Linked DNA regions of Homo sapiens: region 2 is linked to region 1. Evidence: promoter capture Hi-C in 16 types of primary human blood cells and fetal thymus (Javierre and others, 2016). All regions are on one chromosome and are shown on one strand. Each heading gives the region's core, a stretch centred on a gene start or on the middle of the fragment in contact. The rest is flanking DNA. Distances are from core to core; before and after follow the strand shown. Region 1 holds the start of FOXC1 (forkhead box C1). Region 2 overlaps GMDS (GDP-mannose 4,6-dehydratase).

Evidence for each region. The method cuts DNA at HindIII sites, captures the fragments that hold promoters and counts their contacts. A CHiCAGO score of 5 or more calls a contact.
Region 2: a contact is called between a fragment that was not itself captured here and the fragment with the promoter of FOXC1 in region 1, in 2 of 17 cell types (M2 macrophages and M0 macrophages). The highest score is 6.6, in M2 macrophages.

Annotation. Positions count from the first base shown.
Region 1 is chr6:1,605,972-1,611,580 of GRCh38, reverse strand. It overlaps FOXC1 (forkhead box C1), which reads right to left and starts at 1,666. Exons shown (of 1, transcript NM_001453.3): 1 at 1-1,666. The coding sequence starts at 1,135. It overlaps FOXCUT (FOXC1 upstream transcript), which reads right to left. Exons shown (of 2, transcript NR_125804.1): 2 at 4,223-5,565. RefSeq lists enhancers at 809-908, 3,622-4,131, 4,489-4,989, 4,990-5,490 and a silencer at 1,239-1,858. The HindIII fragment of the contact is 8,300 bases long and covers 1-4,244 here.
Region 2 is chr6:2,085,468-2,090,973 of GRCh38, reverse strand. The region is part of intron 4 of GMDS (GDP-mannose 4,6-dehydratase); the gene reads left to right. Among named protein-coding and RNA genes, the nearest start is that of GMDS, 160 kb to the left of the region's middle. The HindIII fragment of the contact is 212 bases long and covers 2,778-2,989 here.

The DNA.
Region 1 (5,609 bases), core at 417-2,916:
CGCCGCCGCCGCCCGAGCTGCCCGCGCTGGAGGTCTGGCTGCAGGGGGAGCTGTAGAGGGAGCTCTGGCCGGGCGAGTAGGCGCCGAGCGCCAGCGGGGGTGCGATCCCCGCGCGCGAGGACGCGGCCGCCGAGGCCAGAAGGCCGGAGCTGAGCTCCGCGGCCGCGCTCTGCGGCGACCCCCGCAGCGACGTCATGATGTTGTCCACGCTGAAGCCCTGGCTATGGTGCGGCGGCGGGGCGGAGGGCGCGGGCGGCGGCGGCGCGGAATCCGCACCGTCCAGGCTGAGCGGCCGCGCCGACGGCAGGCTGCCCGGGGGGCTGCTCCCGCTGGACAGGCTGCTGCTGCTGCTGTCGGGGCTCTCGATCTTGGGCACCGCGGCGGCGCTGCCGCTGCCCAGGGCGGCGGCCGGGGACAGGGGCTGGGGCGGCGAGGGGCACGTACCGTTCTCGGTCTTGATGTCCTGGATGCGCACGGGCGGCGGCTGCGGACCGGGCGCGTTGCCGTCGGCCTGCTCCGGCGGCGCGGGCGGGGGCTGGCGGCCGGGCGGGGGCGGCTCCTTGAGGTGCAGCCTGTCCTTCTCCTCCTTGTCCTTCACCGCGTCCTTCTTCTTGAAGCGCCGCCGCCGCCGCAGGAAGCTGCCGTTCTCGAACATGTTGTAGGAGTCCGGGTCCAGCGTCCAGTAGCTGCCCTTGCCCGGCTTCTTGTCGTCGCGCGGCACCTTGACGAAGCACTCGTTGAGCGAGAGGTTGTGGCGGATGCTGTTCTGCCAGCCCTGCTTGTTGTCCCGGTAGAAGGGGAAGCGGTCCATGATGAACTGGTAGATGCCGTTCAGGGTGATCTTCTTGTCCGGGGCGTTCTGGATGGCCATGGTGATGAGCGCGATGTAGCTATAGGGCGGCTTCACCATGTCCTTGGGCTGCGGCTGCGGCGTGTAGGGCCCGTAGGCGCGGGCCATGCCGCCCGGGTACTGCTCGGCGTGCGCAGGGTGCGAGTACACGCTCATGGGGGCCGGCATGGCGGTGTAGCCGCCCCCGGCCGCCGCGGCCGCCGCGCGGTAGTAGCTCTGCTCGCCGCCGAGGTAGGGCACCACTCCCAGGGAGTTGGGGCTGGACACGGAGTAGCGCGCCTGCATGGCCCCCGCTCGCCGCCGCCCCGCGCCGCCCGCCGCCCCCCACCCTCGCTCGGGCCGGGCCGCGCCGCGCCGGCCGCCGAGTCCGAGTCCGGGCCCGGCCGAGCTGGTGCCGGCCCGCTGCGCTGTGCGTCCGGCTGCGCTGCCGCCTCTCCCGGCGCTCGCTGGGGCTGGCTCCTCCGGCGCCTCGGGCTACCTCGGGGCCCGCGCGGCCGCGAGGCGGGGTCGCTGCGAGGGGAGAAGGCCGGGCCCGGCCGCGGCAGACCGCCTTGCAGGAACTCGCGGCGCAGCTTCCAGGCGCAAACGGGGGAAAGCAGACAAAAAGAAAGAACAAGCAGGCGCCCTTCTCGCCACACTGCCTGCGCCTTCCAGGAGACTCTGCCCTGAGCTGCCGGCGAAGGCGGCCAAATAACCAGGGCGGGGGGGGGGGGGGCCGCGCGCCGGCCGCCTGCCCGGGCCCCGCGTCACCTTTTCTCGGTCTCTCGCGCGCCAGCCGCTTAAGGAAGCATTGGGAAAACTTCTGAACTTTTGAGCATCCGTCACCCAGGCGAGGACTTTTTTACGCAGTTACACTTTTTTCCGGGCAGCGGAGCCCCGCCCCGCCAGCGGCGGCAGCCAATGGGAGGTGAGAACCGCCTCCGAATGAGCCGGAGGCCGAGCCCTGCCGGCCCGCTCCCGGAGGCCGGAGGACCGCGGGGCTGACCACACGCGCGCCGGCCGCCCTGGCCCGGGCCCCGGCCCTGCGCCCGCGCCGGCGCCCGGCCCGCCGTCGGTTCGCCCCCCGCAGTCCACCTGCCTGCCGCCGGCGCCCGGCAGACCTCCCACCCCGGGCCCTCCGGACCCACGCCCGCCGTTCGCGCAGACTTCCTGGGTCCTCCCGGGACCCCGTGCAGACCCTTCCTTCGCCCACGGCTCCCGAGTGGCCCTGGCGTCTCCGCCCCGCCTCGTGCTGGCTCGCTCTCATTCCTTCGCCAGCCCCGCCGACGCCAGCGCTGGGGTTGCCCCAGCCTCTCCTCCCCGCCGCCTCTCCCCTCCCGCAGCCCCTTCCCTCCCTTCTCCAACGCCAGTCTCACTCGGGTCACTGACGTCTCCGGCTTTTCTCCACTTGGAGGTTCTCCTGTCCTGAACTCGGCTACAAAGGACATGATTTTGAGGGCTCGGTCACAGCCAGGCCCTGCTCGCGGTGGGGAAGAAGGTTCGTCGCCCATCTGGCCCCCCTCCATGACCCCTCCCCAGCCGAAATGAAGGCAAGGGGTGCGGGGCCCTGCTGGGAGTTTCCGACGGCCGTTCACCCGCGAAGGATGAGCCCGCCCCGCTGCGGGCCGCCCTGCTTCTCGCCCCCCTCCCCGGGGGGCCGGCCCTTGGCGGCCTGAGGGTGCGGGCGGCGAGGGCTGCCGGAGCCCGGCTGCTGCCCCGCGCTCCCCTGCCCGCCCGCGAGGGTCCCACCGGCTCGCCGCGCCGCCGCCCCCTCTGATCCCGTCAGGCCCGTTTCGGCTCAGATGAGGGGTCAGGCTGCGGGCTCGGTGACATTAGCAGGTGTGATGACAAGAAGCAAATAAATATGTCTAAGAGCTTAACGCTTCCCCAGGCCAGTCTCCATCTCCACATGCGCGGGGCTGCCGGCTCGCAGAGACAACGGGTGTGTCTGGGGGAACGTCCAGGGTCGCACCTAGAGGGCGGTTCAAGGATTCTGGGGGGACACGCACGGAAGGGCCCCCGCTCGTTGTGCACACGCCTGAGATTCGCCGTCGCTGGGTGGTTGGAATGGGACAGGAAGAAGAGAAATGAGGGAAAGAAACGAAGGAGCGGGAAAGAGCCAGGCCTCCCTCCCCCGGCACGGCGATTCTGCATTTTAGCGACTTGAGGAGAGACCCTCCCGGAGGCTGAATCCCAAGTCGTTCACTAGAAGCTGGGGGAAGTGGCGAGCTCAGGAGACTGCGAAGAAGCGTGCGTGACGCATTTAACAGCTCCGCTGCCCCTGATTTCCGACCATCTATTAAATCCAAGGACATGTTCGGGACCCCTTTTGTCTCCCCGGTTCGAATCCCGGCTTCCTCACGTTGGCAGGAAAATTCAAATTGCAGCTTCGGCTGTTACATGTGAAGGACGCTGACGTGTAGCAGGCGCATCTCCGTGTCACCTGAATATTTAAAAATTACTGTTTCATAATGGACATTGACATCGAAGGAAAGAGGACCTGCCTCTTCTAGAATTAGCCTTTGGAGGAGGGAGGGTTGCCCCGAGGTTGCTCTGAATCCCGGGGCAGCTGCCTCCTGGCCTGCTGTGCGCCGGGGTCTCTGGAGACTCCTTTTCCAGGTGGTTTGCGGGCCAAGTCACTGGTGGGTTGGAGAAGCACCAACAGGAGGCTCAGCACTTGCTGGTTGCCAAGGACACTAGACAGGGGCGAGGGTGGTGGTGAAGCCCCAGGACCTGAACACTTAATTCCTGTTCAGCCCCCAGCCCGGCACCCTGAAGGTCTTATCAGCCCGCCTGGTCGAGGCTTTAAGGAGTGCTGTGGCTTCAGCCTGGAGGAGATTTAAGTGGTCTCCCTGAACACCTCAGCAAGTGGTGAGTTCGGTCTTGAAGCTGCCTTTTACACTGCTAGCGGTGCGCGGAGATGAACGCAGCGATTACGGATGCTTTGTTTTCCGAATGCGGGAAACGCCTTCGGCCCCGAGTTTTGCAACAGGCAATGGTGCCCCGCTGCCCCCTCCCCCACCAGCCTGTCGCCTCCTGCTCTTCCCTGCCTCCTCCCTCCATCGGCCCAGTGAAGTGTAAACAGCTTGTTATGTAAATTGCAAATCGACCTGCAGCGGTGTTCTCAGCTCTCCGTTTTGGGTATAAAAGTCGCCGTTGTGAAATTAGTGTCTGGCGTGCGAGAAAAAATGGAGGGACGTAGTTTTATCAAGATCAACTTTCCACTGGTTTAGCTCTGGATATTCGCCAGGAAAAGATATTTGCATTTGTGTTTTATAAACTTACTCGGAAGCAAGCCTCCAGTAAGCGGCTTGATTGTATTTCAAGCACTTTTCTTATTTCATTTTTGTTGTTAGTGGTGTTATTTGAACATTAAGACGCAGGCATGAAGTCTTTTGGGGAACAGGTTAAAGCTTTTATTTTCAGGTTACAGTTTTTGATGCCCCTTTCTGCTACTCCACGGGGTACTTCAATCATCCGCTTCCGCACATCTCTTGACTCATTTGGCAGAAGAGCCCCCACGGGAACCCTTCGGCTTCTTTTCTGACACCTCACGTACTTGCAGCCTGAAGGCCCCGCAGGCGACAGCGGTAATGGATGTTTGGTGGAACCCTCCCTGGGCCCACACTCCGCCCCTCCCCAGCAGGCCGGGCAACAATTCCCAGGGCCCACCGAGGGGTGCTTAGCTCGGAGGAGGGGGAGTGACGTCACAGCGATGTTCAAAACAAGGCCTCCCCTGGCCCCACCATAGAAAAGCACCAGGAAGGGGAATGTGGCGAGCACTCCAGGAAATGCTCGGATTGGGGACCAGGTGACACTGTAGGAATGTGTGTGCTGGGGGATGGGATGGTGTCCTAAATATGGGTCACCAGGAGCCAGAAGGAGCTCTCTTTTTTCTTTTTCTTTTTCAAGTAAAGCAGAGGAGGTGGAGATTGGGATGGGGGCAGTCCGGAAAAATCACTCCCTAGGGGTGTGAGCTTAGCTCGTGTTGTGCGGATTGTCCCCGTCACAGCCCAATCACCTCTGTGGTGTGCCTAGACGCCCTCTCCCTTACCTCCCCGCTTTCTGGCTTCTCCATCCTCTGGGCTCTGGGTTCAGCCCTGAAAGCCGAACTGTGGGCTGCAGTGGGGAGGCGAGGGCAGGTAGAAACCAGCTTCAGGGGGGGCTCCACCTGGCCCAGGAGCTGGGGGACAACAGAAAAGGCAGGCTTAGGGCATGAGGGAAGGCGCTTCTCCTGCTGCACTGGGGCAGTGATTCCTGGGGGCTCTGCACACACAGGAGGGAGGCTGCAAGTCCACAGCTGCTTTAGCATCTTTCCCTTTGCTGGGGCAGACAGAGTGGAAGATTAAGGCAATTAACCCCAGAGGGCCACTAGAAAACTGTCCACTAGGCTGCCATCACAGACCACTGGAGCAAGGTCCGCTTGGGGATGTCTTTGAGCTTTTTAGATTACTTAGATAATTGTCTTAGTTCTCCATTCGGCCTCCTTTGCTTAGACCAGAATCCCAGGGGTAGGGGAGGATATCCTTGCATCAATGCCCGGCATTCGTTTTCAAACCACCAGGCCGGCAGGCAACGTTAGTCATCGGTGCGACTTTTCAGCGGAGGAAGGAGTGGGGACCGAACATCTGGGTGGCCGCGACCTTGGGCAGATACTCCTTAGCTGGGGGATTTTCAAGTAGAGGATTTGTCAGCACAGTCCCTCCAATTCAGCCCCGTCCTTAGTAGAAAAATTTCTACAATAAACGAAAAGAGCGTTTGGTTTTCGATTGTTTTAAAG
Region 2 (5,506 bases), core at 1,634-4,133, 480 kb before region 1:
GGATGAATGCTGATACAGTACATAAAGTGTGCTTTTATAAAAGCTTGGAATTTCCAAATATTTATCATGGCAGTGTTTTATGCTTAAATCACATAATGAATATAGTGTCATTTTTCTTTTTAGTTCTGTTATGCTGATAGTTTGAACTAATAAGTGATGAGACTCGAAACTTCAGCTAAATCCTTCTTCAATACTCTAAAGCATATATTCCACTTCAGTTGCAGAAGAGTCGTTCAAATTATTTAATGCCACTATAGACACAGTAAGAGTATCAGTATAAAACATAGCACCATTCCAAAAACTTTTGGTTTTTATTCCACTGTAATTAAGATTGAGAAACAAGGATTTGTCGTTGTTGTTCTAGCTTATGATTGGAATCCTAGAAAGCAATTTTAAACAGGTCGTTTTATAAGCTTAAGAGTTTAAAAAATCTATTTCTGTTTATTCAGGTTGAATTTTGCTTTGAAAATGTAAGAGATTTGTTGATACTTAGAATATACATCATTGTGAGTATTTTCTATGTACTGTTGGTTGATGGCCTAATAACAGTTTTTAGTGGTGTATAAATGTGTTTATAACTATCGTCAGATAAACTTGTTAACCTCAGTTTTTCAGATACTGATTTCTTTCCGAAGTATAGGAATTTCTTATACATGTTTCCTACTCTTTACCATCGGATTTGGGACCAGGTATTTCCATGGCTGACCACAACACTTTTTGTGTAGAGATTTGAATTTATTGTTTTGTTTCACATCCAGGAATTTGGTAGGCTAGATTATTTGGATCAAATCTTCTATTGAAAACAACTAAAATGCAGAATATAAAATTCTTTAAAATCTCCTTAAAATAATTGAAGAACTAACTACATGGTAAGCCATTATCAGGCTGATACTTGTGGGAAAGTAGAGGAGGTAAGCTACAAATTTAGGCTGTTTTGATCTTGAGGACATTTGCCCATTTGGCAAACTGGAACTTCATTTTGACAGTCCTATGTGATCAAAGGCACAGAAATCAAAGGGTCACATTCTTAGATTTATGGTGAATTATGCCTAAACCCTCTCTCCACATGGCCCCAGCGTGTTCCACAGGAAAAGTACTTTTGTGCTACGCAGAGCAGGAGTGGAGGGGGATTCCTAAGAAGGTGTAACCACAAGTAGACCCTCAAGCATACTGTAATCCAAAGACGTACTGCTTGGGTAGTCCAGAACATTTTAAACTCAGGATTTAGTTTTAGGAGTTTGGGAACTTGTGTAAGTCCTAGGTTCCTGACACAAGCCAACAGAATTTCTCTCTGGAGGAAGTTACCACAAATAAGACCCAAGAATAAGTTTTCAAAAGCAGTGAACAACACATAGTAAAAAATAACCAGGCACTCAAGGAAAAAGTCTGATGAGACCTCTCCTCTTACATCTCCTTTTCTCTTTTACTTTGGGTGCTGCTTCTCTTTTTCCTTCTGCTTCTCTTTTCTTTCTTATTATCTATTCTCCCTTCTTCAACTTTTGTAGCTGTTTTATTTGCATTGAAAATCATCCTCTACTTTGTGGCCTCTTGAAGCATTTATTTTATTTTGTTCTCGGTTCTGTTGCTCTGGTTAAGTCCTTCCTTGTCATCTCACAAATAGTCTATTGTTAGAACCTTTTAGTTGACTTTAATTTTATTTTTTCTTCCTAAATTCAATAGTAAATCAGGTTCAGGCTAATTAAGTCTCTTCTCACAATCCTTCAGTAGTTTCTCTGTGAAAATTCCTGAGCATGACTTTTGATTTCCTTGTAATCTGGCCCCAGATAAAAGAACTAAAAAGTATTGGAAGCTGGGGGAATGATTGAGCACCATTTATTCATGACATTCATTTCCATACTGGATAACAGTATTTTAAATGAATCTATACGCTGTTTGAGAAATTAGTTTTTTTTGTTTTGTTTTAGTATTACCATTGGCTTTTCGTGTAGTGATTTACACATAATAGCTGCCCAATAAATGTTCACTGGATGAATTAATGACTAAAGAGAGAACAGATAAAACTGTTCAGTCACCTGCCTCCCTTGGCACATGTTGCCTCTATCAAGGATAAAGGGACAAGGACCAGCTCTGACATGCTTGTTGTCACACTGTGGATTGTCCTTTGTGCTCTCAGTTTCTCAGTGTATCCCCAATACCCATTGAGTTATGCATCTTATCTGAGCTTCAGCTCTCTTGGTGGTGGGATATAGGGAAAGAGTGGTGCCAACATAAACCATGCTTAGGGCATGACATGAGGCCTGGATTTTCCTCTCTTGCCAGGTGGAGTATTTCATCTCTAGGATCAAGATTGTGATCAGAAAGAACCAGTGTTCTCTAATTTACAGAGCCAGTAACAATGTCATTCATTTTAAGTAAAGTATGCATAGAAAATTTCTATCTCAATAAAAAAGAGAGATCAGGAAACTATTTATTTTGTACAACCCAAAGACTTAAGGAATTTCGAGACTGGAAGAATGTGTGAGTTATCAGGCAAGATGAGGTTGATAGGAGGAACCTGCATTCACTGGTGGTTCATTATAGTTTGCAGGTCTTTCCACGTATTATCTCTTTTTGTCTTTATACCAATCCTATGATACAGGCAAAGCAGATTCCTATTATTACCATTTTACAGACAAGTTAATGTCTAGCTAGCCTTTCTTTTTGCAAACGAATCACTTAGATCATTTCTGGAAGCATTAGCTGAATACCTCCCATATCCCCCACACTCTGCTCTTGATTGCATTTTTTTTCTGATCTCCGCTATCACTAATTAAGCTTTGTAATCTCAGCAAAACACTGACTGTTTTCTTCCATAACATTCTTGTTTGTAAAATCTGTACTCTATATCACAGCATTTTTTTTTTTTACTTTCTACATCTCATTTTAACCTTTCTAGCCACCTTTCTTTCCTCCACTCCAGCATATGAGCATATTACTTTGTAGACAAATAAAATAAGTAAATGCTGAATTAATTGTTAAGTCAAAAGCTTCTCTTTCAGCCCTTTTAGGTTAGGAAAAACAAAGATCCTACTTGGCATAAACAAAATGTCAACAGAAGATGCGCAATAATGTCTATAAAAATCTGAGGACACAAAACTTGGGCAATGCAGATAATCTACCTTGATTATAGGGACTTCACTCAATCTAACATTCTGGCAAACTAAAAACTTCTTTGATGTTGATAATATTTGAGAGCAAATAGGCACACTGTGTTAGGTCTTGGGATAACTAAACGTCCAAGACTTATTTTTCAGGTTCATAAGCAAGTGAACAACATTCAAGCAATACTAAAATTGCGTGTGGCTAAGTGCTAAAACATGAAGTTTACTTACCACAGCAGTCATTGAGTGCCTACTTTTTCTGGGTACTGAGAATAAACACAGAAATCTGTCCTTAAATTTGAATAGTGAAGATGAAATTGTGGGCCTGAGTGCAAATTGTCTCTTCTGTTAGAGATTTTCTTAATGAGAATATTTCTGTTAAGATTGAGTTCAGAGAGAATTCATGAATACTCAAAGATTATTGATGTTACTGATGTTGGGCTCACTTCCTTTCTGATAGATTATTATCACTAATTAATTTGTTACATTTTGAGGCCAAATTTTTCAACTTAAGTAAATAAATCTACATTTAGGATGACAGGAAGAAAGAAAAAGTATTTTCATATACAAAAGAAGTAATCATCATTTCTTCAAATAAAATTGTAAGAACTGACTATTGGTTTACTAAGTGTCCATCTAATCAAGAAATGAATCATGACAGCTTTCCTTGTCCATCTAATCTATCCTGTCAGAACTTCTGAGGATCCCCAAAGCAATTCGTTCTGGTTGGTGGCATCTATGTTGTGTGAGAACAATACCAAACATGTGCCTGTGGTGGGAGTGGAAAGGCCCTTAGGAGGTGAAGGCACTCATATCCTCATAAATTACAGCTGTGGTCATAATTCTTTAGTATTTTAGCTCAACATTTCAACAAGTTTTTTATGTTAATATTTTATTTGGAGCAATATTGTGATTTTCCAAGTGATTTCTCTTATGGAAACTCTTGGGTCTATGGAGGACACAGACAAATATTTCAGAGCTTTTTTATTGCTCCAGACAGCAGCAAACACATGGCAACAATAATACACTAAAAGGAAAACTATTATAGTCGGCCTGAACATTCTTCGTCAAAGCCCTTCTTTCATAATCTTGGCCATAAAGGGCCTGGAAAGGCATACTATCACCTCTTCATTGTGTTATTCTCTGCCAGCACGTAGCCCAGAAGGGAAATAAAACACATTTAACTGATGTGCACAGGCAGAAGAAAATCTATCAGCAACTTTCTGTGAAATGTCTATTATATGAATTGAAAAGTATGTAAAAGCTGGGAGCAGCCTTTGTCACTACTGAAGTTGTTTCGAAGTCCCCGAGTCAGCTGCAGAACGGCAGCTTTGGGGAGGAGCAGCAGCATGCTGGTTACTCATGGTTGGCTGTTCCCTTCTGATTTAAGTGGAGATGCTGCCTGGCCAGTGTGCCTTGAAAGGTCTGGATTTTAACAGAGTAGCTCTCTGTATCGTATTAGAATGATGGGAATTCTAGGTGTGTGAGCCACAATTTTCTATTGTGTAAGATCAATGTCTTTGACTTGTGTGTTAGCACAAAAGTGTTGCTTCTAGTAGAGGGATGAAAAGAAGAAAGGGGAGGCAGGGTTTCATTGAAACTGCCAGCCTCTAGGTCAGTGCACATAGATAGTTACTGCCTCAGGAGGCACAATTGCTGGGTGAATGGTACCACAGAGATTGATTTAGAGTCATGGCTAGTGGGGGTGTTCTACATGTCATGTCTGGAAGAAAATCAGGTGTGTTTTTGAGACAGTGTGTTTTCATGTGGAGCAAACAATCAAAACCAGTGAGTGAGAGCAACCCCAGCATGACCATTGTTTCCTCACCTGTGCCACACTCTCTGTGAAGAGTTGTGTCCACACTTTAGTTTATTTAATAATTTGATGTAATCTGTATTGTATCCCTCATTTTATTCAGAAAATAAGCTCAGAGAATTTTTATATCTTAAGGCCACAGAATTAATGAATGACAGGAGAGCCTGGATTAATGAATGACTAGAGAGTTCAGGTATGCCTGACTTTAGTAATGTCTACATTTCATGGTTGGCCAGGTGTGGTGACTCACGCCTGTAATCCAGCACTTTGGGAAGCCGAGGCAGGTGGATTGCTTAAGCTCAGGAGTTTGAGACCAGCCTGGGAAACATAGTGAGACCCTGTTTCTACAAAAAATACAAAAATTAGCCGGTGTGGTGGTGAGCGCCTGTAGTCCCAGTTACTTGGAGGCTGAAGTGAGAGGATCACTTGAGCCCAAAATGTTGAGGCTACAGTGAGCTGAGATAGTGACACTGCACTCCAGCCTGGATGACAGAGTGAGACCCTGTTTAAAAAAAAATAGTTAGATTTTTCTCTTCCGAGGAGACTGATGTGCAAAAAAGTCAGAGAAACTGGAAGGAAGTGCATATGA